2 separate regions of the Homo sapiens genome follow, and region 1 is linked to region 2. Evidence: promoter capture Hi-C in 16 types of primary human blood cells and fetal thymus (Javierre and others, 2016). All regions are on one chromosome and are shown on one strand. Each heading gives the region's core, a stretch centred on a gene start or on the middle of the fragment in contact. The rest is flanking DNA. Distances are from core to core; before and after follow the strand shown.

Evidence for each region. The method cuts DNA at HindIII sites, captures the fragments that hold promoters and counts their contacts. A CHiCAGO score of 5 or more calls a contact.
Region 1: a fragment that was not itself captured here is called in contact with the fragment with the promoter of STX11 in region 2 in 1 of 17 cell types (naive B cells); the score reaches 5.9 in naive B cells.

What each region holds. Positions count from the first base shown.
Region 1 is chr6:144,403,287-144,410,214 of GRCh38, reverse strand. The region is part of intron 3 of UTRN (utrophin); the gene reads right to left. It overlaps SNORA98 (small nucleolar RNA, H/ACA box 98), which reads right to left and starts at 4,560; the gene lies at 4,448-4,560. The HindIII fragment of the contact is 4,083 bases long and covers 1,053-5,135 here.
Region 2 is chr6:144,146,228-144,152,368 of GRCh38, reverse strand. It overlaps STX11 (syntaxin 11), which reads right to left and starts at 1,852. Exons shown (of 2, transcript NM_003764.4): 1 at 1,666-1,852. RefSeq lists a silencer at 1,726-2,165. The HindIII fragment of the contact is 10,810 bases long and covers 1-6,141 here.

The DNA.
Region 1 (6,928 bases), core at 1,845-4,344, 260 kb before region 2:
GTAAATAAAATCAAAGTTCCTTTGTTCAATATATATAAAGGAGAGGCAGGTACACTGCTCCTTCCCTTCCCTTAGGGTGTCTCCTTAAAACAAAATAGACCCAATTTTTTTGGTCAGGAAATAGATAAATCCAGTCTCCAGTTTTTCAAGCTAAGTTAAACACAGGAGTTGTTGAGAAGGTGGACAAGAGACTATCACAACAAGGCACATCTAGTTGTCTCTCACAGAGACAAGTGTTCATTGTTCTTTCTCCCACTTTACTGAATATTTGTGTGAAATTCTGTCCAGACTTTGACGTCTTTAGCCAACTGCCTGCATGCACTTAACCATACATGCACACTTAATTGTAAATTGTGTTTTCTCTGTATTCTATGTTGGTAACCAGAGGTACCAGTGTTGGCAGGGTTTTTTATTTCTCCAACAAATAATAACAAAAATAAATGTCAGCTTCCCCCTAAGTGTGACTCCCCTCATGGCTGGTGGATGGTTACCTGTGGCAATTGCAGCTAAAAGCTTCCCAGGCCAGATACAGCTGGAAATGGGTCCAGTGTCTCCTTGCTCTGTGTAATAGGTAGAGATTCTCTCCCCTCAACCACTACCTCTCAGCAATCCCCTCTTGATACCTTACTTCCCACCCTGGCATAAGCCCACCCTTCCCTGCACCACCAGAGCCCATCTCTGAAGCTAGAGATGGTGGGGCCACAAGAGGCTGAATGGGAAAGCACAAGGAAGGTGGTCCTGCTCACTCCTTCCTAAGTGAAGGGTGAAAAGTCATTTCCTCCCAGTTGATCAATTTCTAAACTGATCGTCAATTACAAAGACTACCAAATTTGCTTCACAATTATGAATACCAATAGGCTGAATCAAAACCCTGTATTAAGTACTCATCAAAGCATAGCATATTAAATAATACTTGACAGTTTTAATTTTAATCATTTGTTTTTAGTTTTAACCAAGGTGAAGTTCATTTTACAAACAATTTTGAGACAAAAATCAAATTTTAAAAATTCAAATTGAATGAAAACAAAACAAACAGCAACAACAACAAAGCTTGCATAAGTATAGCCAAAGTATCTGGAAGCTGGTGTTTAAGAATATGGAGTACATTTTATTGTTTTCTTTTTAGAGGTATTAGTGAATAGACACAAATTCACATTTCTTTTTAAGGAACCACTTGAATGTGTATGGCTCCTAAAACAATCAGTTGAGTTGCCATATGCATACTCATGAAATAAACCAATGGCAGACCCAATGTGTAACTCTTCAAGCTCAAGCCTCTACTATAGATGGGATTTATCTTCACACAGGAAGCCTGTCAGCCTCTTTACAGTACTAAAGAGAAGACTGAATATCTAGAGGTGGAAAAGGGTTTGGGCTCCTTTTATTGCACCTCCTGTACAAATCTCCCTCCACATCTTTTCCCACCCTTATTTTAGTGATTATTAACTTCCAACATGAAAAAAGTAGGAAAACAATCTAAAAGCAATGTCTCACTGTCTCCTAAAGGAAAACATCTTAATAGCTCTCCATATTGGAATCCATAAAAAATGCTTCATGGCTTTCCTCTCTTACGTTCTGTCAATTTGAATTTCAAGGTTGGAATTGTAACTTACATGAAAACTTGGCTCATCTGTGTCTTAGAAAAGAGAAAAGCAGGGATTTGCACAAACTCAAGTTCAGCATTTTTAATTTTGCATATTTTCTACCTAACCTTTATTTGTGAAGCCTCTTTAGAGAACCATCTCACCAAATGGATAAAAGAACTTCTGCAATTTGTATGTTTTCAGCTCTGCCAGATGAGCAGCTCTGAAAGTCAGCCAAAGAAAATGCAGGCTCAAAGTCAGAGCAAATTTCCCAAAGCAAAGCAATGAGGCCTTTGCTGCCTCCCTTGGGAGACCGGCCGGCTAACAAGCCAGAGGCTCTGAAATTTAGAAGGGGCAAAACACTCAAGTCATACACACCATACAATGGAAGAACGCGGGCTTAATGAGCCAGTGCTTTTTCCCTTTTCTGTTTACGTGTGGCACGGATCCACAGATCAGGACTATCACAGATTCGAGGTATATGATAGGGTTTTTATTTTGCATTCCTAAGTAATTATCATCTCCTATACACTTCTCAGCAATGCCTCAATATTTCTTCACGATATAAGGAAGGTAATAATGATCGATTGCGTCTTATGGCTATGGAAATGTAGACCAGGTGATCTGAAAAAATTGACTAATAATTTGCCTGAGGTCATAAATAAATGAGCAGGATATCCAGAAATAAGTGTTTAATTTCCTAATTTTTAGCTTTTTTTAGATAATCACTTTTTCTGAGCTCTTCATAACTTTTAAAAATCCAAGAGCCATAATTTACTCTACACTATGACTTCTCAGGATCCTGAATTCCAAAGCACTGTATACTCCATGATATGTTCACAAGGATTTGCAGCAAAAAGAATACATATTTTGAGTGAGCACTGTCTTGGTTACTGTATATTCATTTACAGTTACAAATTAAAAGATGGTTTTAGACTGATATTATTCTCAAGTTCTTTACCAAATCCCTTATCAAGAAAAGAATTGTTCTGGCTTTAAGTTTTAAGTCTTATTTTTCTTCACAGTGAATTTAATAGTTAGACCCTATGTGAAGAATTGTATTGGGTAAATAAAACAATAATATGCATTAAGTCCAAGTGGTTATTTAACAATCACTGCAGCACAACTCCAAGAAATCAGGTAAATAGGGAAAGTTTGGATAGCTGGATTTGTTTATTTTTGTCAATAATGCAGCAAAAGTCCTGATGCATTGTATTCATATCCAGGACTTAGCACAATTCATGCCATGTTGCACTCAGTCCTAAACTCTACTCCTGTCTCTCCAATGCAACCATCCCCAAGTGGCTTATGAACATATAGAATTAGGCATATTCAATGTATGTCTATGTCATTGTCATTCATTTATTTATTAAGCCTACAAATAGTTTACTGGATACCTACTAAATGCCAAAAGATATGCCAATAAGCAAATAGAAAGTCCCTGCACCCACAGAGTTTATGTCTAACCTAGGAAAAAAGGCTGGCAACTATTTAAATTACAGTATGGTAAGTGCTTCAAATCATAACACTTTGAGAGTATACAGCTTATCTACCCTAGTCTGGGAGCTCAGAAAAGAGATCCTTCAGGAAGCAACATTTAAGCTCAGACAAGCAGGAAGGGGTAGGAGCTGGCCAGGAAGAGATAGAGAAAGGACTGTGTGCAAAGGCCAGGGAGGGCCCACCGGGATGGTAAGCAAAGGCCGTGTGGCTGGAGCAAAATGAGGGAGCGAGAGGAAAGTAAAATAAAATTAGGAGTAAATTGGGAGGCAGCTATTTAGAGCTTTAAGAACCAAGTAAGACCAAAACATCACACTATATACCAAAAATTATACAATTTCAATTTTTAATTGTGTTTTTTAAAAAAAGGAAAATGGGCACCCAACGAAAGAGCTTACAGAAGAGAAAAAGGTATTCAGGTTTACCCTTTAGAAGCACCGTAGATACTCTCTTGAAAATGGAAGGGGAGGCCGGGCGTGGTGGCTCACGCCTGTAATCCCAGCACTTTGGGAGGTCGAGGCAGGCGGATCACTTGAGGTCAGGAGTTTGAAACCAGCCTAGCCAACATGGTGAAACCCCATCTCTACTAAAAATACAAAAATTAGCTGGGCATGGTGACATGCGCCCATAATCCCAGCTACTAGGGAGGCTGAGGCAGGAGAATCGCTGCAACCTGGGAGGCAGAGGCTGCAGGCTGCAATGAGCCAAGATTGCACCACTGCACTCCAGACTGGGCAACAGAGCTAGACTGTGTCTCAAAAAAAAAAAAAAAAAAAAAGAAAAGAAAAAAAAAGGAAAGGGAGATGGAGAAGGTGGAGCATGGAATGGAAGAACCAATTAGCAGATTATCACAGTGGTCCATGTATTCAAGGATAATTTTCCAACAAGGTAAAGTCATAACTCTCAAACCAATGTGATAATAATGTCTGTCAAAGATTTATTTAACTCATTAATTAATGAGGGACCCAGTAAGCTGTTACAACCAGTTCAGGGGAAAATTTTTAAAAACACATGTTTTACACAAGAAAAATGAAAACTGAAATAGATTTGCAATAGATGCAAAAACTGGTCTATCCAAGGAGTAATAATTAACTGCTTTACAAATAATTTTCATTTTTATGGATAAGAATCATTTGCATACCTATTTTCCACAACTTACCTAGTCGTAAAGTAGCTCAAAAGTAATTAAAGGCAGAGATAATTCAGATGCCTGAGCTAACAGGACACCCACTAGTTTTTTGCCCATTGTAAAGTCTCTCACCATTTTTTCTAATACAAATAACAATGCCTTGGAAAAGAGACGTGTCACTCTACATAGAGTAAGTGGACAATTTTGAATATATGTAGGTATTGGAATTAACAAGGCTCGATGTTTGATTGACTTTTGATGGGGAGGAGGCCACAAAGGAAATATCTAGACAAATGTCTGTTTTAAAACAAATTCCTAAATGGCAGAAGGTGCCATCAGTGTCTGTTTGGATTTCTCAGCACAGAGGTCCTGTTGCTCTGTTTAGGAACCCACACTGTAGGGAAGTAGTGGACCCACTGAAAAATTATATTGTAAAACCCACCACAATGTACCAAAGGACATGGATTTTTAAAAATGAAAAAAAAAATTCGTTCCCTTCAACGGGATTTATTTTTTTTTCTTGTTCTATCCTCGCATTACCTAGTAATACCAGGCATGAATACGGTCTTTCCCCAGCTCAGCAAGAGTTAAGCCACATGGGAGTCTATGGAAATCTCCCAGTCTAGAAATGTGTTACTCCCTCTTTCACTATCCCCAATTGGAAGCAATCCAACTTATGGTCTTAAGACAGCCAGAAGAAAGAAAAAATAATGTGGATGTTTAGTGTCACTGCCATGAGCTTCCCATCTCCAAATATTCATAATTTCTCAGATAAATTCCTTCTAGGTTTTGATTTCTTGCTAGATGAAAATAAAAGTTTTCAGAGTCATCCCACGTTTGGTAGTTTTTCTCCAAACACCATCTCCAAACACTAACACAGAAGCTGAGCTTAGAAACTACCATCTCCAAACACTAATAGAGAAGCTTTTAGCTAAAACTAACTATAACTTTTACTAAAAATGATAAAAATTACCAAGTCTTTTCCAGTATCTTGGTAAGAAATACAAATATTCCAGGGCAAACAATTTACATGGGACTTAAAGCCCCATTTAATTGCAAAATAATAGACATTATAAATGCACAAATTTAAATATCAAGTTCATTTAATAAACTAGTCTGGTACTACCAGATTTTGTTTTCTTTGAGGTCTTTTTAAAGGTGTCAATGACCCACCATAAATATTGAGAAATTTCTTTTCAATTATTCTGTCTCAGTTGTCATCTCTCTTCCTCTACAAACCCTTTCCATGTCCTATTTTACTACCTATTTCTCTCCATTTTCATAAATAGGTAAAAAGTAATTTACCCAGTTTCAAATGCTCTCTAAACTTAGGTCTACCAAGTTTAATGCTTTCAAAACAATCTTCAAAATTAGTTCTAAGGCAATTCTTCCCCAAAGACTAAATTAAGCTGCTAAAAACTGCTTCACTTGTTCTATCTAAACAATTACTGTGTTATCCTCGTGAATAACCAGGAAAAATAATCTTACTTTTATGAGCAATCATAAGACCACTGGAATAAAACACCTCATATCCAGACTCCCAGTTGCTAAAACTACATTCTCTGGAAAATGGTCACATGCAGATGAATAGTTCAAAAGTTTTTATTCATGTCAAGCCCGAGATGCACATATGTTACCTGTGTCTCTGGAATAAAACAAACTAAAATTTACCAAAACACACCTGCATGTGATTTGGAATAATCCTACACATATAACTGCCAATTATGCAAGCACCTTTATGTTCTAATTCTCTGTATTTTTAACCCTCTGTCAAAGTTGGTTTTCATGTTCCTTACATACTCACAGGCAAGATAAAATACCCCTCAAGATAAACTCGCAAAGCCCAAAAAGCAGTGAAATCAAATAACCAACTATAAATATTGGGACGTGGAGCATTTTTTAAACTATGCTGCTACTCAAAGTAACCTTAAGATATCCTCATTTTTCCTCAAGAAATACCAATGTTTGTCTCTCTGACCTTTACAACTTTTGAAAAGCAACCAAAAATTTTGAAAAGCAACTCTTCATTAAAATAGCTTTTATACTATTTAAAAGACCACAACAGTGTTTCTCTGAGAAACTTCTATTTTTCATCTTGTTGTAGAAGAGTCCTAAACAATCTGTTATCCTGAAAACTCTCCTCCTACCTCAGGCTTAGTGCACAAAATTCCAACACCAATAACTAATAGATAATCATATTAGAACAGATTTGAAAATAGCACTGACAATTCCTCTCTTCAGCATGCTCTGCCCCTATGAAAAAATATTGCTCAAAGCATTGATTATGTTCTAAATGGTTAGAAATGCTAAGAGTAGATCTTTGGGGTGGGGGAGGAATTAAGGAAGTACACAAGAAAAAACAACCCACAAGGCAGATAAATATTATTAGCCACATCCACAAGAATAAAAATCCATAAATATTTCTGACAGGGTAGAAAGACTGCCTGAATTATAACATTTGGTTTTAACCAGGCAAAATGAAATCATCATCCTCTTAACCAAGAGAACTCAAAAATTTTCCCAATGATATATTCTTTTCCAAGATGTACCCAGGATTCACAGAATCGAAAGCAGCTAACTGCTGCCTTAGATATCTGGAGAAGGCCAGGTAAAAGTCAATAGCGTCCCATAAACTATGTGCATGAGAATTTCCGTTTAAACATATTTTAGGACAGAATAAAGGAACAACAAATGTATCTGCATACTCAGAAGACTTCGG
Region 2 (6,141 bases), core at 603-3,102:
CCAGTCCATTCCAAATCCCAGATCTTCAGAAACATCAGTCATATTGGGACAGAAACTTTTCTCTGGGTATAGATTTACCCTAGCACCTATCTCATTATATTGAATTTTCCAGCATATTTAAATAAACTATTAATTAGTCACACTATTTCTTAAAAGTCACACTATCAACTAATCGTGACCGCAATTATCTAGGGGTGATAATCTGCTGAGTCTACTCTTTAAATACACTGGGACCCAGCATATTGAGTTATATTGGCACAGAAACTTCACTCTGGGTATAGATTTACCCTAGTACCTTGCCGGCAGGATCCTATTATTCATGGTTGTACAAGCAAGGTTCAGGGAAGAGGCTGGCACAGAGAAGGTACCTGGTAACTGTTGTTTGAGGCTGAATTCAGCTCAACTCAGCTCCAGTAGAGATGGTGTCCCCTTCTCTACCGTGTTGAGATAGTGTGCAGTCCCTTCCTAAGGGCTGTTACCCACCGCAATAGGACTTGTCAGCTTCAACTTTTAAATTTCTCTGCTCCCGCTGGGACCCACCCGCTTCAAAAATCATCATGTGGTTTTAGCACCAATTTAGTAAACACAAACTGTCTGAAATATTTTGATTTTAGAGAGTTACTTACAATCACCACATTAAATGATACCTTTCTCCCATGCAGTGAAAATGACAGCAAAATGGTCATTGAATAATGAAATTAATTTTCTCTTGGGCATCTGTGGCAAAGCACATGATTTCAATGGTTATCTTAGATCAGCCCAGTGACCTTTACTGGCATGTTGTAACATCAGGCGCCTTAGGAAACTGAAAACTCAATCGTCACTTCCCATACCACTGCCCCAGGTTGGCAGGGCAGGCATTTCACATCTAGAGTCTCATTTTAAAGCAAGCCTCGCTTTTCAAAAGTTCATTAACAAAGTCTCACAATTAAGAGAGCAGCCCTGTGACTCATTTTTGGATACCTGTAAATAACAGCTCCTCCCTCTGCTGAGAAACGGCTGAAACAAGTGCGTGAGAACCACAGGAAGTAATACAGATCTCAGCTGGTGTCAGCGGAGTCTAGAAAAAGGCAGAATTCCCTCTCAGGACGGCGTGGCTCTCGCAGGCATTGCCACTACTTCTCTCCATGTTTCTAAAACAAAGTCTTACGTGGGCTTCGAAGGGACTCCTCGAAGGCTCTATCAATTTCTCCGTCTTTCCTGGCTACTGAGTGACACCGCCAAGTTCAAGTCAAGAAGTACCCATTCTGGTGTTTTTGACACAGTCACCCTACTAGGAAGTGAAGAGGTGATAATAAAAAAACACTCCAGCCTTTCGATTTAAAATAAAAGTAGTCTTGGGTGGACACTTTATAAAGGCAGCCTACCAACAGGTATCCCTAAAATAATTCTTACGAAGCACTAAATCCTAAGTCCCTCAGCCTCTGAAATTAAAAGTAATTTTAAAAAATCATTCTGCTTTATATGAGAAACCCAATGCTGTGTTTCCGAAGGTGCCCAGAGGCGGCGTGAGGACCTGCGCCAGATCCAAAATCCCACCTAAGGCACAGCCGCGGGTCCCGAGCCTAGACAGTGCCCCCGCCCCGACCCGCCCTCCCCGATCTCTCCGCGCACGGGGAAAATAGTCAGGAAGAGAAATGGGGGCTCAGGAAGAGAAAAACAAACCTGGACTGGGAGCGAGAGTGCGAACCGAGAAGCCCCTCTCCCGGCAGGGCGCGCGTCCCCTGTGGGCGCAGCGATGGAGAAGGAAACCTGTTGCGCGACTCCCGGCGGCTCCGCTCCCGGCGCCTCCTGCGGCCGAGGCTGAGTTCCTCCACGGCCGCCCGAGCTCCGCGCCGCCGCGGCCGCATCTGGGCGCCGCCGGCTCAGCCCCCGCCGCTTAGGAAGCGACCACAGCTGGGGACCAGGCCCCGCCCCGGGATGACAGCGCTGGGGCGCGGCGGCAGCCGGCTCACAGAGCGCGGGTTCCCGCCCCACCCAGAGTCCATGCGCTCGGGACCGCCCGGAGCCGGGGACGCGCTCCAGCCCCTCCCGCAAGCCCAGGGGCGTTCCCGCGGGCTGCGCGGACCGGCGCGGGGAGTGGGATGTTTGCCGCCCAAGACACTTCCTCCGCTCGTCCTCTGGTCCCCAGGGCAGGGAGCGCGCTGGACTTCCCCCGGGAATCCCCGCTGCGCTGGTGACATTTGCAGTCCGGTGCGTTGCCGCGGCGAGGACGCTGGAAGCCGTCTCTGAGCGTGGGTGTGGCTGCGGAAGCTGCGGCAGGTCCTGCATCCCTGGGACCCTCGAGGACGCGGGCGAGGAGCCTGCGGTCACACGGAGGCCGAGCACCGCCTTCCCAGAACCCTGCCGACCAACCTCTCTCCAGTCGGCCTCAACACCCGCCGGGCTCATCATTCTCTGGATATCAACTGAGCGTCCCCTTGTGTGCCCACCGCGCTCAAAAATACTGCCAAGACCCACCCTCCAGGTCCCGGCACTTTAACGGGGAGGGATAAATAGAAAGTGTGGATTGTGCCAGGTGGTGGTAAAGCACCTTGAAAAACAAGGCTGAGGCTGAAAAGTAAGGAAGTGATACTCAAAAAAGGAAAAATCGGGCCGGGCGCGGTGGCTCACGCGCGTATTCCTAACACTTTGGGAGGCCGAAGGGGGAGGATCTCTTGAGCCCAGGAGTTTGAGACCAGCCTGAGCGATGTGGTGAAAGCCTATCTCTACAAAAAATAAAAAAATTAACTGGGCGTGGTGGCGCACGCTGTGATCCCAGCTGCTCGGGAGGCTAAGGTGGGAGGATCACTTGAGGCTGAGAGGTCAAGGATGCAGTGAGCCGAGATCGCGCCACTGTACTCCAGCCTGGGCGACAGAATGAGACGCTGTCTCAATTGAATGAGAAGAAAAAAAATAAAACTAAAGAACGAATCCTGCCTTGATGGCAGAATGTTTAGACACAGGAACCACCTGAAAGCTCCCAGTTGCCAAAGATGGAACCATTTGAGCAACGAAGTAAACTAAACAAGGTAGTATTGGATTACAAGCCAAAGTAAAAAAATCCATGAGTCTACACTGATATAAATAAATAATTGAATAAATAAATAAAAGGCGGAGAGGAGACAAATCTCCTATACAGAATAATTCCAAATAATTTATGTAGATCATGTACCCTAGGCTGTGCACAGTGACTTCCTCCAAAATAGTACAATGTGGAAAGGGAAAAACAGTAGGTTTACAATGGAGAAAGCCGACAGACACTACCCCAGCCAGATGTTCTAAGCCAACGTCAACAATCGTGACTCATTGATGGCATGTAGTCAATATGATGTGATGAATGTGGCATATTACATGTGTGGTCTCCCTCCTGGAAAACCATAACCTCAGTCTCATAATGAGAAAAATATCAAACAAATTCCAGTAGTGGAACATCCTACAAAATACCTGACCAATATTCCTCAAAGTTGTCAGGTTATCAAAAGTAAGGAAAGTACAGTCCAGACGTGGCTCACGCCTGTAATCCGTACACTTTGAGAGGCTGAAGCGAGAGGATTGCTTGAGGCCAGGAGTTCGAGGCCTGATCTGGCCGACATAGCCAGATGCTGTCTCTACAAAAAATAAAATAAAATAAGGAAAGTCTGAAAAACTGCCGCAGCCTAGAAGAAACTCAGGAGACGTGAAAACTAAATGTAATGTGGTATCCTGGATGGGATCCTGGGACAGAAAAAGGACTTGGGGAAAAACTAAGGAAATCTAAATAAAGCATGGACTTTCATTAGTAATAAGAATCAAGGTTGATTAATTAGTTGTGAGGAATGTAATGTAAGATGGTAATCATAGGGAAATCTGAAATGGAATTTATGGAAATTCTGTACTACCTTTGCAGTTGTTCTGTAAATCTAAAACGGTTCTAAAAAATACAGTTTATTTTAAAAGAAAGTAAAATAAGAGGGATGAGGTATGTTATATTTTTAAAAATGGGTATATTGCAAAGCCATCTAAGATAAGAGAATCATTGAGGGAGGAAACAATGCAGCTATTGGGATTAAGATCATTTCAAGCCTAGGAATCAGTGGATGTAAAGGCCCCGAGGCAGGAGCATGCTGGGCTTCTGGGAGAAATATCAGCGTGGGCAAAACAGAGTCCAGGAAGAGTGATGGTGGTGGGGCTAGGAGTGGGGAGTAGAGCATGTAGGGCATTGGTAGTCATGATAGTCTTTACATTTTACATTGATTGAGACAGGAAGACTGAAGAATGTTTATCAGAGAAGCTAAATGATGTTGCTGGTTGTTTTTTTAATCTACCGTTTTGTTGAGGACAGATTAAAGGACAAAGATTAAAACAGGCCAACGAGTTAGAAAGCTGTGATGGTTAATTTGATGTGTCAAATTTATTGGACCATGGGGTGCCCAGATATTTGGTAAAACATTATCCTGGGTGTGTCTGTGAGGGTGCTTGCTGATGACATTTTTAATTTTTTTGAGACAGCAGCTCACTCTGTTGCCCAAGCTGCAGTGCAGTGGCATGATCATGGTTCCCTGCAGCCTCGACCTCCCCTGCTCAAGTGATCCTCCCACCTTGGCCTCCCAAAGTGCTGGGTTAACAGGCATCAGTTACCATGCTCAGCTGAGATTAACCTTTGAATCCATGGAGAAGACTGCCTGAAAAAGTAAATTGTGGATGGGGAGGAAAGGTGAAGATTGCTGGGGATTAAGAGTGGCATTTTGGACACCTTCAGTTTGGAGTTGTCAAGTTGTCATGAAGGCAGTTGGTTAGGTGAGTCTGGGATGGTGGTATATATTTGGAGTTCTTTAGCATATAGATGGTGTGCAGACAGAATGGGGATGTCTGAAGTCTGAGTCCTGGCATGCTCCAAAGTTCAGAGGTTAGGAAGATAAAGAATCAAAAAAAGAGAATGAGAAGTTCTGATTAGTGAGATAGATAAACCAAGAGAGAGCACGTTTCAGGAGCCAAATTAAAAAAATTTTTGTAAAAAAGAACAATTAACTGTGAAATGCTGCTACAGTGTGTAAAATTAGGACGGAAAACTGAGGAATGGGCTTGGCCACATGGAGGTCAGTGGTGAGCTTGGTAAGAAGAGTTTTAGTGGGGGATGACCAAAGCCTGTTTGGAGTGAAAGAATAAAAACATCAGATGAAGACAAAGAAATGGAGTAGAAACAGGAAGGAACCATATAGTCAAAGCAGTTTTTTTTTTTTTTAATTAGAAGCTATACATGTTTGTTTGCTCACCAGCATGAACCAAAAGGAATGGAAAGAGGGATGATATGGGGGAGAAAAAATGGGTTACATGCTGGAGCAATGTTCTTGAGTAGATGAGCAGGTGTGCAATCCAATGCACACATGGAAATTTAGGGTAAAACAGAAGAAAGAGTTCATCCCTGGTAACAGGAGAGAACAACTCCAAACTGAATGTGTCCAAAATGCCACACTTAATCCCCAGCAATCTTCCCCTTCCCTCCCCATCCACAATTTACTTTTTCAGGCAGTCTTCCTCATGGATTCAAATGATAATCTCAGCTGTGTGGTAGCCTGTAAACCCAGCACTTTGGGAGGACAGGGTAGGAGGATCACTTGAGCCCGGGAGTTAGAGACCAGCCTGGGCAACATAGGGAGATCTTGTCTTTACTAAAAATCAAAGAATTAGCCGGGTGCGGTGGTGCATGCCTGTTGTCCCAGCTATTCAGAAAGTATGGCAGAGATGCTGGTAAATGTGGAGGCAAGAACATATTTTATCAATGAAATTAAAAGCAAGAGCTGGACGCCGTGGCTCAGGCCTGTAATCCCAGCACTTTGGGAGGCCGAGGCGGGCGAGTCACTTGAGGTTGGCAGTTCAAGACCAGCCTGACCAACATGGAGAAACCCCGTCTCTACTAAAAATACAAAATTAGCCGGGCATGGTGGCACATAATGACAGGGTTTAGAGTATGGCCAATCTGAATTATCTTCCGCAATTGATCTGCTCACACCCAGCTGAAACCCCAGATTATTCTTGTTTTATAAATTTCTCTGGAGACCTTGGCTCTCCCTTCCAGTCTGGAGTTTTTCAGAGATGATGACCGATAAGGACCTTAGGGTGAAGCTCAGATAAAACAGAGCAGGCACTGGGTGCGGGGCGTGGCAGTTGCATGGCGATCTG